Linked DNA regions of Homo sapiens: region 1 is linked to region 2. Evidence: promoter capture Hi-C in 16 types of primary human blood cells and fetal thymus (Javierre and others, 2016). All regions are on one chromosome and are shown on one strand. Each heading gives the region's core, a stretch centred on a gene start or on the middle of the fragment in contact. The rest is flanking DNA. Distances are from core to core; before and after follow the strand shown. Region 1 holds the start of LOC107987176 (a long non-coding RNA gene). Region 2 holds the start of PIWIL1 (piwi like RNA-mediated gene silencing 1).

The links. The method cuts DNA at HindIII sites, captures the fragments that hold promoters and counts their contacts. A CHiCAGO score of 5 or more calls a contact.
Region 1: a contact is called between a fragment that was not itself captured here and the fragment with the promoter of PIWIL1 in region 2, in 1 of 17 cell types (naive B cells). The highest score is 5.6, in naive B cells.

The regions. Positions count from the first base shown.
Region 1 is chr12:128,261,659-128,267,514 of GRCh38, reverse strand. LOC107987176 (a long non-coding RNA gene) reads left to right here and starts at 483. Exons shown (of 2, transcript XR_001749176.1): 1 at 483-944; 2 at 3,742-4,568. TMEM132C (transmembrane protein 132C) reads right to left here and starts at 345. Exons shown (of 9, transcript NM_001136103.3): 1 at 28-345. The coding sequence starts at 112. RefSeq lists enhancers at 1-142, 678-1,199. The HindIII fragment of the contact is 693 bases long and covers 1,872-2,564 here.
Region 2 is chr12:130,333,353-130,339,141 of GRCh38, reverse strand. PIWIL1 (piwi like RNA-mediated gene silencing 1) reads right to left here and starts at 1,255. Exons shown (of 21, transcript NM_004764.5): 1 at 996-1,255. LOC101927786 (a long non-coding RNA gene) reads left to right here and starts at 2,902. Exons shown (of 3, transcript XR_242978.5): 1 at 2,902-4,233; 2 at 5,338-5,512; 3 at 5,701-5,789. RefSeq lists an enhancer at 3,962-4,131. The HindIII fragment of the contact is 10,112 bases long and covers 1-5,177 here.

The sequences.
Region 1 (5,856 bases), core at 969-3,468, 2.1 Mb after region 2:
CGCGCCAGGCACCCGCCCCGGCCTTACCTTTGCCCAGCAGCGCGCCCAGCAGCAGGCTCAGCGCCCCGCACAGCGGCGCCGCCGGCCCGGGGGCCGCACCCTCGGAGCGCATCCTGCGTCCCGGCCGCTCACGCAGCCCGCCGCCAGCCCGAAGCGCAGCGCCCGCCCGCGGCCCCCGCCGGCCGCCCCATGCCCGGGGCCACTCCCGCAGCCCGGTCGGCCGGGCCCGCTGCGTCTCTGCTGTCCGAGGCCCGCCCCTGCCGGGTCCACGCCGCCGCAGCTCCGGCTCTGGCTCTGGCGGCTCCGGCTCCGCCGCTGCTCGCGCTCCGGCCGGGACAACTTTTCTCCCGCAGCCTCCGCAGCCTCCGCAGCCGCCGGCCCGCCCCGCCCCCGGCCCCGCCCCCGCCCCCGCCCGGGCCCCGCCCCCGCCGAGCCCCGCGACCGCGGACAGATTGAGGGTGCGGTAGGAGAGAGTTCGCCTGCCCGCCGGGAGGGGCGGCAGATGGAGAACCCCCCCGCCCGGGCTAGGGAGGGTGTGCCCGGGAAAGAAGACCGGGAGAGGAGGGGGCGTCTCCCCAGGCGGCTGGGACGGCTCCTCCGGGGGTCCGCGCCTTTCCAGAGAAACTCAGCGTTCGCAGACTCCTGCCCGGGTGCCCAACGGACAGCGGCCCGTGGCCCGGAGGGTCCTGCCCAGGGACCCGACGCTCAAGGCGGAGCTGGACTCCTTCTCCCCACCCTCCCGTGGTCACTGCGGGACCTGGTGGTCGTCACGCCCCATTCCTCAACTTCAGGTGGCCGCTGCTTTAGCCTGGAGGGCTGGGGACATCTGGAATGCAAAGTCCCGCGCAGCTGCTGCGGGGAGAGCTCCTAACTGGATCACTGAGCGCGGAAAAGCAGCGCGCAGCGGAGCGTGAAGGCGGGGTGCGGGCTCAAGACAGATGCGGGTGTGCACCTGTGCGTGTGCGGAGGGGGCGAGGCACGAGATCACAGCGGTGTCTCTGGGAAGGGGACGAGAACGCAGAGGGGAAGAAAGGATCATTTTTCACTGCATGTCTGTGGGGCTTCCACTCCCCAATCATCTCCCCGCCGCCCATAGCATGTGTTTTATTATCTTTTCAGTGGGTGGAGAATAGCCCCTCTCTAGACTTGCTCCTGCAATAGGCAATTTCTCTGCAGACTCAGACAAGGAAGATCCGCCCTCCCCCCCCCCCCCCCGACTTCGTTCTCTCTATCTTTTCCCTCTGATTTCTCCAGGGCTGGCCTCCCTCATGGTGGTGATCCCAGGTGATCTCAGCGGCTTCCCTGTGCGGTTCCTGATGCTCATGCTCTGCTCTTTCTGCCACGCGTGGTCTGAGCAGTTTGAGGGCGGGACCCCGACTCCCCCCTTGTGACTGGGAATGAAGGGCCATGGGTTCGGAGGTCTCTGGACGTCCCCTCCTGTCCTGAGCTCCTCACCACGGGCTCAGCATCCCCTCTCACCGTGGGCTGGCTCGGTCCAACATCAAAAGGAAGCCTGAGGGGTCTTTTCTCACCATCAGTGCAGGAAAGAATTTCAAAAGAAAAAAAGAAGTCCTTGATTGAAAGAAAAGAAATGTAAACGAATGATCCCCAGCAACTGCAACCCCAAGTCTTATCTCCCAACTCAGCCCCTAAGGAATGAGCCAGGCATAAGGAGAAATTGGGGCGGGGTGGGGCGAAGGCTTTGCAGGGCACTGGCCAGAGTGGGAGGCTCTCTCCTGGGGTGGGGCCCGGAAGTCTGGGCCAGGCTGGGGGGAGATGTCTCCCTGGTTTTCTTGGCCGGCTCTACTCACATGATGTGAGGAGAAGGCAGCTTGAAAACTATCCAGGCCCCAAAGGGAACGGTAAAAGCTTGATTCTCATAGGCCTGGATAGCAGAGACTTGATTTTTAAAGTGGATTATGCTGATAATCGCCCAATTCTTCAGTACATTCAGCTAGTGTAGACCTGACCTTGGGGGCAGGGGGCAGTTGTAAAGTAGATTTGGGCTCCTAAAACGGAAGGTACGTTTTATTCTCAGTGCTTTGAGCCTGAACATCACCGGGGAATAATTTTTTTTTCATTTAAATGTTCCCAGCATGAGGGAGAAATACACATGTCCCATTGTTTGTAACTGAGGATGGGAATCTGCCTTATCCTCTCTCCTCCCTATTGGATAACAGGGACAAAAAATAAAAACCCAAAGAAGTGCCCTCCACTCCCCTGTTCTATGCAGCCTCATAATGTACCTTCTTTCCACATCATTTCTTTCCTTTTGGCACAGAACATTGCTGTCCCTACTGCAAAGACAAGTCAGGTCCTGGACTACATCTCTGTGATGCAAATAATCAAAACCAGGGGCTACCAAACAAGCCACAGCAAAATAAATACTAATTCAACATGGGGTTGGAGTGGGGAAAGGATTCTCAATCAGATAAGCTCACTGCACAGCACCCCAAAGGCAGCCACTGTCTTCAGGTGATCCTGAATCACAGATGCCCCTTGAGACTATGATGCCTCCGGGCATCCCCTGTGAGAGCCTTCAGGAGACCCAGCAAATGAAAGCTTCTCTGCAAACCTTCCTTTAGGACTCCATTTAATCTATTGCGTGTCCCTCTCAAGAGCAGTCAAACAAACATGCACACAAAACTGAACAAACAAATAAAACAGATGATATAGTCAATTTCTCTTTCATAGGTAAATCCACAAAAATTGAGGTTCATGGGCTAATAAAGTTTTCTGTATTTATTTTTTTTAAGTCATGTATCATTTAACCCCCAAATCATTAATTCCTTAACTTAGATTACTTCCAGATGGTTTTCTGAATTTCATAAGGAACATCAGAGGCTTCTAATCTCCTCAAAGGCTGTTGCAGAATTCCTTAAGGACTGTGGGCACATGGAAGCACTTAACATAATTTATGGGAGAGGAGAATGATTGGAAAGAGGAAACCTGCTGCTTCCACAGGGTTTCAGGGTTCCTAAGTCAATGAGGCAACTTCAGATTGTTTTGTTCATGCTTAAATGTTAAATTGTGAATATCGCATAAAATGAGGGGTGGAACTTGTGATTTTAGTTCAAAGGCTTCTTGCATTGTCTACCTGTAGACGGGACATATGGGTATATATTGCCGAGGACATGGAAAAGAAAGGCTATATGTTGGCCTCATGAAACAGCTATGGTCATCCCGCAAACTGAGTATCAAGTCCTGACTATGGTGCTTACTATTAGCGATTAAAAAATGAGGAAGAAGGAAAAAAGGGAGAAAAATGATAGAAAGGTCTATGCTTAGTTCTGTGTCCTGTCATTGTTCTTAAAACATATAGGCACTATCTGATTTAATCCTCTTCACACTCGTGGGGTGTATTATTATTATCCTTGGACATTTTATTCATTCATTCATTCATTTAACAAATAGGTGTCACTTGCTTACTATTTGTCAGGCCCAAATTTTGGGGTTTTGCCAGTGAACAAAATAGACGAGAGTCCTAAATTCATGGACCTTACATTCTAGTGGAGGATGCAGACTCTAAAGTAATATACAAGTAATTGTATCTGTTAATGCAGTGATATGTGTTGTGAACAAAAATAAAGCAAAATAAGGGAAAAGTCTGATTTGGGGGTGCAACTTTAGGAAGGTGGGTGAAGTGAGAGCAATTTTTGGGAAAAGAGCTTCTCAGGCTGATAAAAATGAAAGTGCAAAGACACTAAGCTGGAGTCCTGAAAGGTCTTATTTTTCTTTCAGAAGGATCACTCTGGCCAATTGTAGACCACAGCCTATAGGAGTAGCCAAGGAAGCCTGAAGTCTAATTAAGAGCTGGTTCAAGGCACCCAGGAGTCTTGGATGCTTGCACTGGAGTAAGAGGAGCAAAGCTGTGAAGTCGAGACAAGGACCAGTTAATGATGCCTAGTGGAAGTGAAGCCAGCAGGATGTGCTGATGGATGGGTGTGGACTGTGGGAGGGAAAGAAGAGGCCACTGTTTTGGCCCAAACAACTGGGTACCTGAGGGTTCTCTTTATGGAGGTGAGGAAGAGAGGGGGTGAGTGACCTTGGTTGGTACATTGGTACAGATGAGGAAACTGAGGCTCATAGAGGAGATTAAGCCACTTGCTGGTATGTGACAGCCCATACATTGAAAATCAGCTCTCTGCACCCCCTGGAAGGAGCCGGGCCAGTTTATGACCACCAACCCTAAGGCAAATTGAGTATTGCATTGGTACGAACCGTAAGCCATATGTCATCCCCTCTTTCATTAACTCCAGGTCTAAGTCTGGCTAAGGTAGAGAGGAGTCAGAGGTGTGGAATGTAGAAATAATACATTCTTCCTCTCTCCGTGTGGATAAAGATTCCAGCCTTTATTCCATCTAATGAAAATATATTTAGGGAACATTTATTGGGGGCCATTCGCTGTCTGCCCTTGTTCCTTTATTTGTTTGCTTGCTCATTCCTCGTTCCATGTCAACTCCATGAGGGGACAATGTCTGACGTGCTCACCCCTGTATTCCTATCCCCTAAAACAAGTGTGTATGTGAAGATAAGTCCTTGTCCAATGAATGAATACTGTAAATCCATAGACTATTAGCCCTACTTTACTAATGAGGAATCTCAGAATCACTCATTTTACCTTTAGTTCATTTAGCTGTTAATAGTGATGATGATGATAATAACAATTAACATTTATTAGGTACTTCCTAATTGCCAAATATCTCATTAACAACCCTATGAACATGTACTCTTGTTATCTCCAGTTCACACATAAGAAAACTGATGTCAAAGAAGTGAAGTGGCTAGTTCAATGCCACTCATCTAGGAAGTGGTTGAGCTGGGATTCAATCTAGACCATCTGACTTCAAAGTCCACATTCGCAACCATTCACTAGACTGATAGGTGTGTGCTCAGGTGTGCCTGTTTCCTACACCAGATGTCTAGGAAACTTGTGTTAGGTCTCACTTGCTAGGTCTCTCTTTGTGTCAGGTTTCACTTGTTGGGCCCTTTTATTTTAAACAAGCACTGAAGAATTGTCCCTTTGTAACTTCCACTTACCATCCCAGACAACCTCTTGAGACCCTTGTGCTTCTCTGGCACTGCTACTTGAACTCAGCCTGTATGGAGCTTAATCGACCCTGAAGAGGACATGGGCCCAGCATCCCTAGATAAGATGCAAGATGCAGGTGACTTTTGGCCTGTGAAAACAACTTTTAAGAGTGATGCTCAAATGCCCATACCTGCTTATCATCCCATTCTCCACGTGGTACCTGTTGGATGCCCAGACTCCTCTCACATTTGTGGTTAAGACCCACAGAGTAGAATCTCTACCCTTCACCCTTCCGCTAGGGTTCAAGGCCAGCAAATGATCAATTTACTATAGGAATTAGGTTAACGAAGCTTCGGATTAGGTTACAAATGGAAGTAATCACACTGGTATTTCCTTAACTGTATTTGCATCATCATCATCATCACCATTATCACCATCATCATCATCACCATCATCATCACCATCACTATCATCATCACTATCACCATTATCACCATCATCATCACCATTATCATCATGATCATCATCATCATTATCACCATCATCATCACCACCACCACCACCATCATCATATCATCATCACCATCACCATCATAATTACCATCACCATCACCATCATCACCATTACTATTATCATCACCATCACCATCACGATCACCATCATCATCATCTCTAACACTTGCAGATTCCTTACTCTGTCCCAGGCACTGTCTTAAGTACTTTGACAGGTGTGGACTCATTTAATCCTCACAACAGTCCTATGACATTACTTTTGTTATTAACCCCACTTACACATGAGAAAATTGAGATACAGAGTTTAGGAG
Region 2 (5,789 bases), core at 6-2,505:
CCTCTTCCCAACGTCCGGCTCCCAAGGCTCCCGGGGGCGCAGCGCAGCGGCGGCGGACGCGGGAAGGGGCCCTCGCCCTCCGCAGAGATCGCGCCCCGCGGCCGCGTGGGTAGTGCGGGAGGTCCCGAAGGCCCTCCTGCAGAGCTCTCAGGTCCCCGCAGTCTCACGCACGGCCGCCAATGCGGAGACCTCCGCCCCCGCACCCCCGGCAACTCAGGCCTCAGCCTCTCACCCCGGCCCCTGCACCTGGGACCTCGCCCCCGCACCCCGGCCCCTGCACCCCCGCACCCCGGCCCTACAGCCCCGGCAAGTCGGGCCTCAGCGCTTCCCCCCGGCCCCGCACCCCCCACACCTGATACATCGCCCCCGCACCCCGGCCCCTGCACCCCAGGCTCCTGCATCTCCCAAACCTGGGACCTCGCCCCCGCACCCGGCTCCTGCATCCCCCGCACCTGGGACCTCGCCCCCGCACCCGGCTCCTGCATCTCCCACACCTGGGACCTCGCCCCCGCACCCGGCTCCTGCATCCCCCGCACCTGGGACCTCGCCCCCGCACCCGGCTCCTGCATCTCCCACACCTGGGACCTCGCCCCCGCACCCGGCTTCTGCATCTCCCGCACCTGGGACCTCGCCCCCGCACCCGGCTCCTGCATCTCCCACACCTGGGACCTCGCCCCCGCACCCGGCTCCTGCATCTCCCGCACCTGGGACCTCGCCCCCGCACCCGGCTCCTGCATCCCTTGCACCTGGGACCTCGCCCCCGCACCCGGCTCCTGCATCTCCCACACCTGGGACCTCGCCCCCGCACCCGGCTCCTGCATCTCCCGCACCTGGGACCTCGACCCCGCACCCGGCTCCTGCATCCCCCGCACCTGGGACCTCGCCCCCGCAACCCGGTCCCCGCACCTCGAGCCTCACCTCCACATCCCGGACCCCCAGCCGCCGCCCCCGCATCCCGGCCCCCGCACACCTAGCACCTCAGCCTGGCCCCGCACCTTGGACCGCTGCCCTCGCCCTAGTCCTGGTCCTTGCACCTCAGCCCGAGGCCAACAGCCCCAACGGCTCCCGCGGAGATCCCTCCGCGCCGCCGACCTCCCAGGACCTCCTTCGGCCCGCGCCCACCTCGCCTTCGGCGCTGGGTTCCCGAGAGAGCCAGGGACACGCGGGCAGCGAGCAACAGGCGCTCTTTTCCCGGGCGGATGAACACCGCCTCCCGGGCGCCGGCCTCGTGTCTGTACGCCATACGCCCAGTAACGGCGGAAAGCGGCGCGCGCCACGCCCTCATTGGCTGCCCCGCAAACGGCGGTTTCTGATGTGGCCGGGGCGGGACCAGAGGAGCCCCGCCCCACAGGCCCCGGCCCCGCCCCTCCAAGACCCCGTCTGGCCCCTCCCGGACACCCGGCACAGGCCCAACAAGCCAGGCCCGCCCCGCCCCACAGGCCCTGCCCCTGGCCCCCCAAGACACCGCCTGGCCCCGGACAGACACCCCGCACATGCCCTGGCCCCTCCCCATAGGCCCCGCCCCCATCCCGCCAAGACCCCGCCTGGCCCTGCCTAGACGCCACGCCCAGGCCCCCACAGGCCCCGCCCCCGCCCCACAGGCTCCGCCCCTGTCCCCCCAAGACCCCGCCTGGCCCCGCCCAGACACCCAACACGTGCCCTGCCCCCTCCCCACAGGCCCCGGCCAGCCCCACCCAGGCCCCGCCCTGTTCCTCTTCTGCTTCGCCCAGACCCCCGGCCTTCCCTGGCTTGACTCCTGCAGTTCCCCCAGTGCCAGCCCCCTGCAGGCGGACACGGGGTCGGGCCAGTTCCCTACTAGCTCGTGGAACTGGGCGGCGGCGCACGAAGTAGACCCTCCATAGACTTCGAAATGGTGCCCACGTGGGCACCGAGCGCCCTACTGTAGCAGTGGACTCGATCTTGGTCTGGCCTTTAACGTCGGAAGCTCTTTCACTCAGCACACAGAGATTTGAACTTTGACCCCAAAGAAAATAAAACTGCAATGCAAGTCTAAGGTGCCAGGAGGCCGTTACCTGGAAATTTAGCTTTCAATGACTTGTGCCTTGGGTGCATGCCAACGTGGACCGCAGGGGTTCTCAGCCTTCACCTGCGGGGGATCACCTGCAGGGCTGGTTAGGACACAGACCAGAGATTCCGGTCTGCAGGCTCCACAGGTGGGCCCCGCCGGCTGCATTTCCAAGGCATCGCAGGTGGTAGCGACCGGGTCTACGCCGAGCTAGGTGCCCTCCATAGGAGTTAATTTCCTCATGGAGGCAAAGTCAACAGCCACAAAACAACCGGAAATATTGTAAGATAGAACAGGTTTATTTGTCAAGGTGGAAGTGGGACTGAGGCTCACTAACTGCCTGACCTGTTATGTTCCATAACTATAAACATGATTGTAGGAGGTAGTAGAAATAGGGTCGCCTCTGCAGACAGGTTTTAAAACTGCATTTATACGGTAAACATAGTGCTTTTCCTTTTTTTTTTTTGTGAGACGGAGTCTCACTCTGTCGCCCAGGCTGGAGTGCAGTGGCAGGATCTTGGCTCACTGCAACCTCCGTCTCCCAGCCTCCTGAGTAGCTGCGACTACAGGCACCCACCACCATGCCCACATAATTTTGTGTTCTTTGTTTTGTTTTGAGACAGGGTCTGGCTCTGTCAGGCTGGAGTGCAATGGTGGGATCATGGCTCCCTGCAGCCTCGACCTCCTGGGCTCAGGTGATCCTCCTGCCTCAGCCTCCCCTGTAGCTGGTACTACAGGTGTGTGCCACCTGTAGTAATTTTTTTGTATTTCTTGTAGAAATACGAGAAATACACCCAGCTAATTTTTTTGTATTTCTTGTAGAAAGAGGGTTTCATCATGTTGCCCAGGCCGGTCTCAAACTTCTGGGCTCAAGTGATCCACCCATCTTGGCCTCCCAATGTGCAGGGATTACAGGCATAAGCCACAGAGCCCGGCCTACATATTGCTTATTATTCATACTTAAAAGCGCATGCCTGGGAATCGGGGGCTGGAGAGGGCTGAAGGCTCCCCAAGCCACCTTCCCAAATCCTACGTCTCATCTGTGCCATGAAAGGGGCAGGTTAGATGTCAGCGTTTCCCACACTAGCCTGAGTGTAAGCATCCACTGAGGGAACTTCCAAATAATACAGACTCCCAGATCACGCTGATTCCAGGAGGTCTGGGACGGGTGCAAGGAATTTCAAGAAGTAACATCAAGTTATTCTTATGCTCAGAGAAGGCTAATAAATTTGGGGCGAGGCCAAAAGGCGTTGGAAGCCAGTAGTTTGAAAGAAAAATAGCTTTCCAAAGGCTTTCGCTTTGTAAAAACTAAATGGTGCCTTTTGGAATACAATGTGAACATAACTTTTCCAAGGATTTAAGGTGTTGATGAGAAAGACATTCTGAGACCTGCCAGCAGATGGAGCCATAAAACAAGAAATAGATGTTTACAGCCTCAACTCGGGAGAAAAATACCGTGAATGCACCTTACACTATAGAAGTAACACTTTTCCCTCTGCTTTATTTTCTCTATATGCTAAACTCCTTACTTGCCTCTGCTAAAGAACATCGCTGGAGTGTCTTGGTGTGTGAAGTATGAAATAGTTTCTAAAGACATAAGTTGTGATATAGCAAGACAGAGGCAAAACCCCTCATTCTTCTGAGAGTGTAAACATCATGTCGCAAGAAGCTCACCTAAAATTTGAAAAGGAAAACTCAACGAAAATTTGAAAAGAAATTCAAGGAAAAAAAAATGTGACCTTTAAAATTTCCATGTTGACAGCACCACCAGGACCCCTTCTGGGATCCGTTGCTAGGTATAACTTCGTGCCTGACTCTGGAAGTTAAAAAATGAATAGTTACAGATTCTTTTTCCGGGAGCCGCCTCTAGAGGGGTGTACCCACCAGGGAAGGTGAGCAGAGTGCCACCAATCCTGTGGGTGCTCAGCGGGAGGTTGCTGAGGGATGCTTCGTGACTCAACGCTGCTGAAGCCCTGAAGGCTGATTTGGGTTTGCAGGGAACAGGAGGATCGGCATGGCGGAGCACGTTGGTCTGAGCACATGTGAGGTGTTTAGAAAACTGCAAGTCATCCAGCACGGGAGCAACGCCAGGCACAGGCAGGGGAGTCGTAGGGGATGATGCTGCAGAAGGGACAGACCGGGTTCTAGAAGTTGGCGAGCAAGGAAATGTGAGCATCTGGACTGCCGAACGCACCCTGTTAAGTGCTGTGAGTAAAACACACTCTGTCCTCCCATTGATGTGAATAAAACACACTCTGCCCTCCCGCTGATGGCCCAACAAGGGAAGCAGGGAGTGTGACAATTGGGAACGTGGATGCTGACCTGAAGGGCCAGTGGCTGCTTAGTCCTAGCCAGTTACCAGGAGAGAATGAGGGCTCAGATTTGCTGGGCCTCACATGATGGCTTTGGTTGTTGTTGTTGTTGTTTTTTTAATTGAGGTGAAATTCACATAACACTACATTAACTATTTTACAGTGAACAATTCCATGATATTTAATGCGTTCATAATGTTACGCAACCCCCCACCTCTAGTTCCAAAACATTTTCATCATCCCAAAATAAAACCGTCACTCTCCATCTCCCTCTTCCCCCCACTACCCTGGCAACCACGAATCTGCTTTCTGTCTCCTTTCCTGTTCATTTCATAGAAACGGGGTCATACACTAGGTGGCCGTTTGTGTCTGGCTTCTTTCACTCAGCGCCGTATTCTCAAGGCTCACCTACGTCGTAGCCCGTCAGAGCTTCCGTCCTCCTTACGGCTGGATCTTACTCTGCTGTTTGGACGGACCACATTTTGTTTATCCACTCATCCATTGGTGGACAGCTCAAACGTTTTTAAAGGGGAGCAGGAAACTTGGACATTTTCCGGTGCGTTTTTAGGAATGGCCACCAGTGCTCTCTAGTGTTGGGCAGAGGAGCATCCCAGGGAAGGGAAACAATGGAAGATACTCAGAGAACAGAAAAATCCCAAGTTACTTCATGTAAAGCTGAAAATATGATCTGGGTAGATTATGCTGGGGGTGACAGGGACTAGATGGAAAAGAAACTCATCATGAACCCTGCATGCTGTGTCCAGAGCTTTGGACTATATTCTGTAACCAATCAGTTTCCCAAGTTTTTAAAGCAGAAAACCACATACTCAGAGCAAGCTTTGACCTAGTTCCTTTCATTCAAGGATCTCAAAGCCCCTTTAAACCCATGATCCAGATTTTGTTTGTAAAGGAAGAGATGGAGTTGAAAAACAAGATCTAAGGCAGTTCCTATGAATCCCTTCAATGTAATTTTTCAGAGCATTTCCCTTCTCCCTTCAGACTCATGTCGTTCTGATTGGGCTGAATTGAAGAGCTGCCCAGCCTCTCCCCTGGCCCTGAGACCCCTGACCTAGAGGGACTAACTAGAGGGACGGCATGGCAATGGCAAGTGTACCCAAGACAGCATGCCCGGAGGTTTATCCAGGAATATTCATCCAGAGGGAAAGAGCAATGGGTGAGGCTGAAGTTCGTCTGTTCTCTTATATACAAAATGTGAACAAATCCTGAATATCACAGTCTGGCCACAAGGGGGATGTTTTGGGGTGGGCAGGGTGACGGAGGCAGGGGGTCCTGACTTGGCTCCCCAGGAAGTGGGTTCTGTTCTGTTCGCTTAAGCTCTCTGCATTCTTTTTTCCACGCTAGACGATGAGCATGTTGGACCAGATGGGCACGTGTCCAAGTGCACCCTATGGAATGTATCAGCATCGGCCTCGCCTGGAAGCCTGATAGAA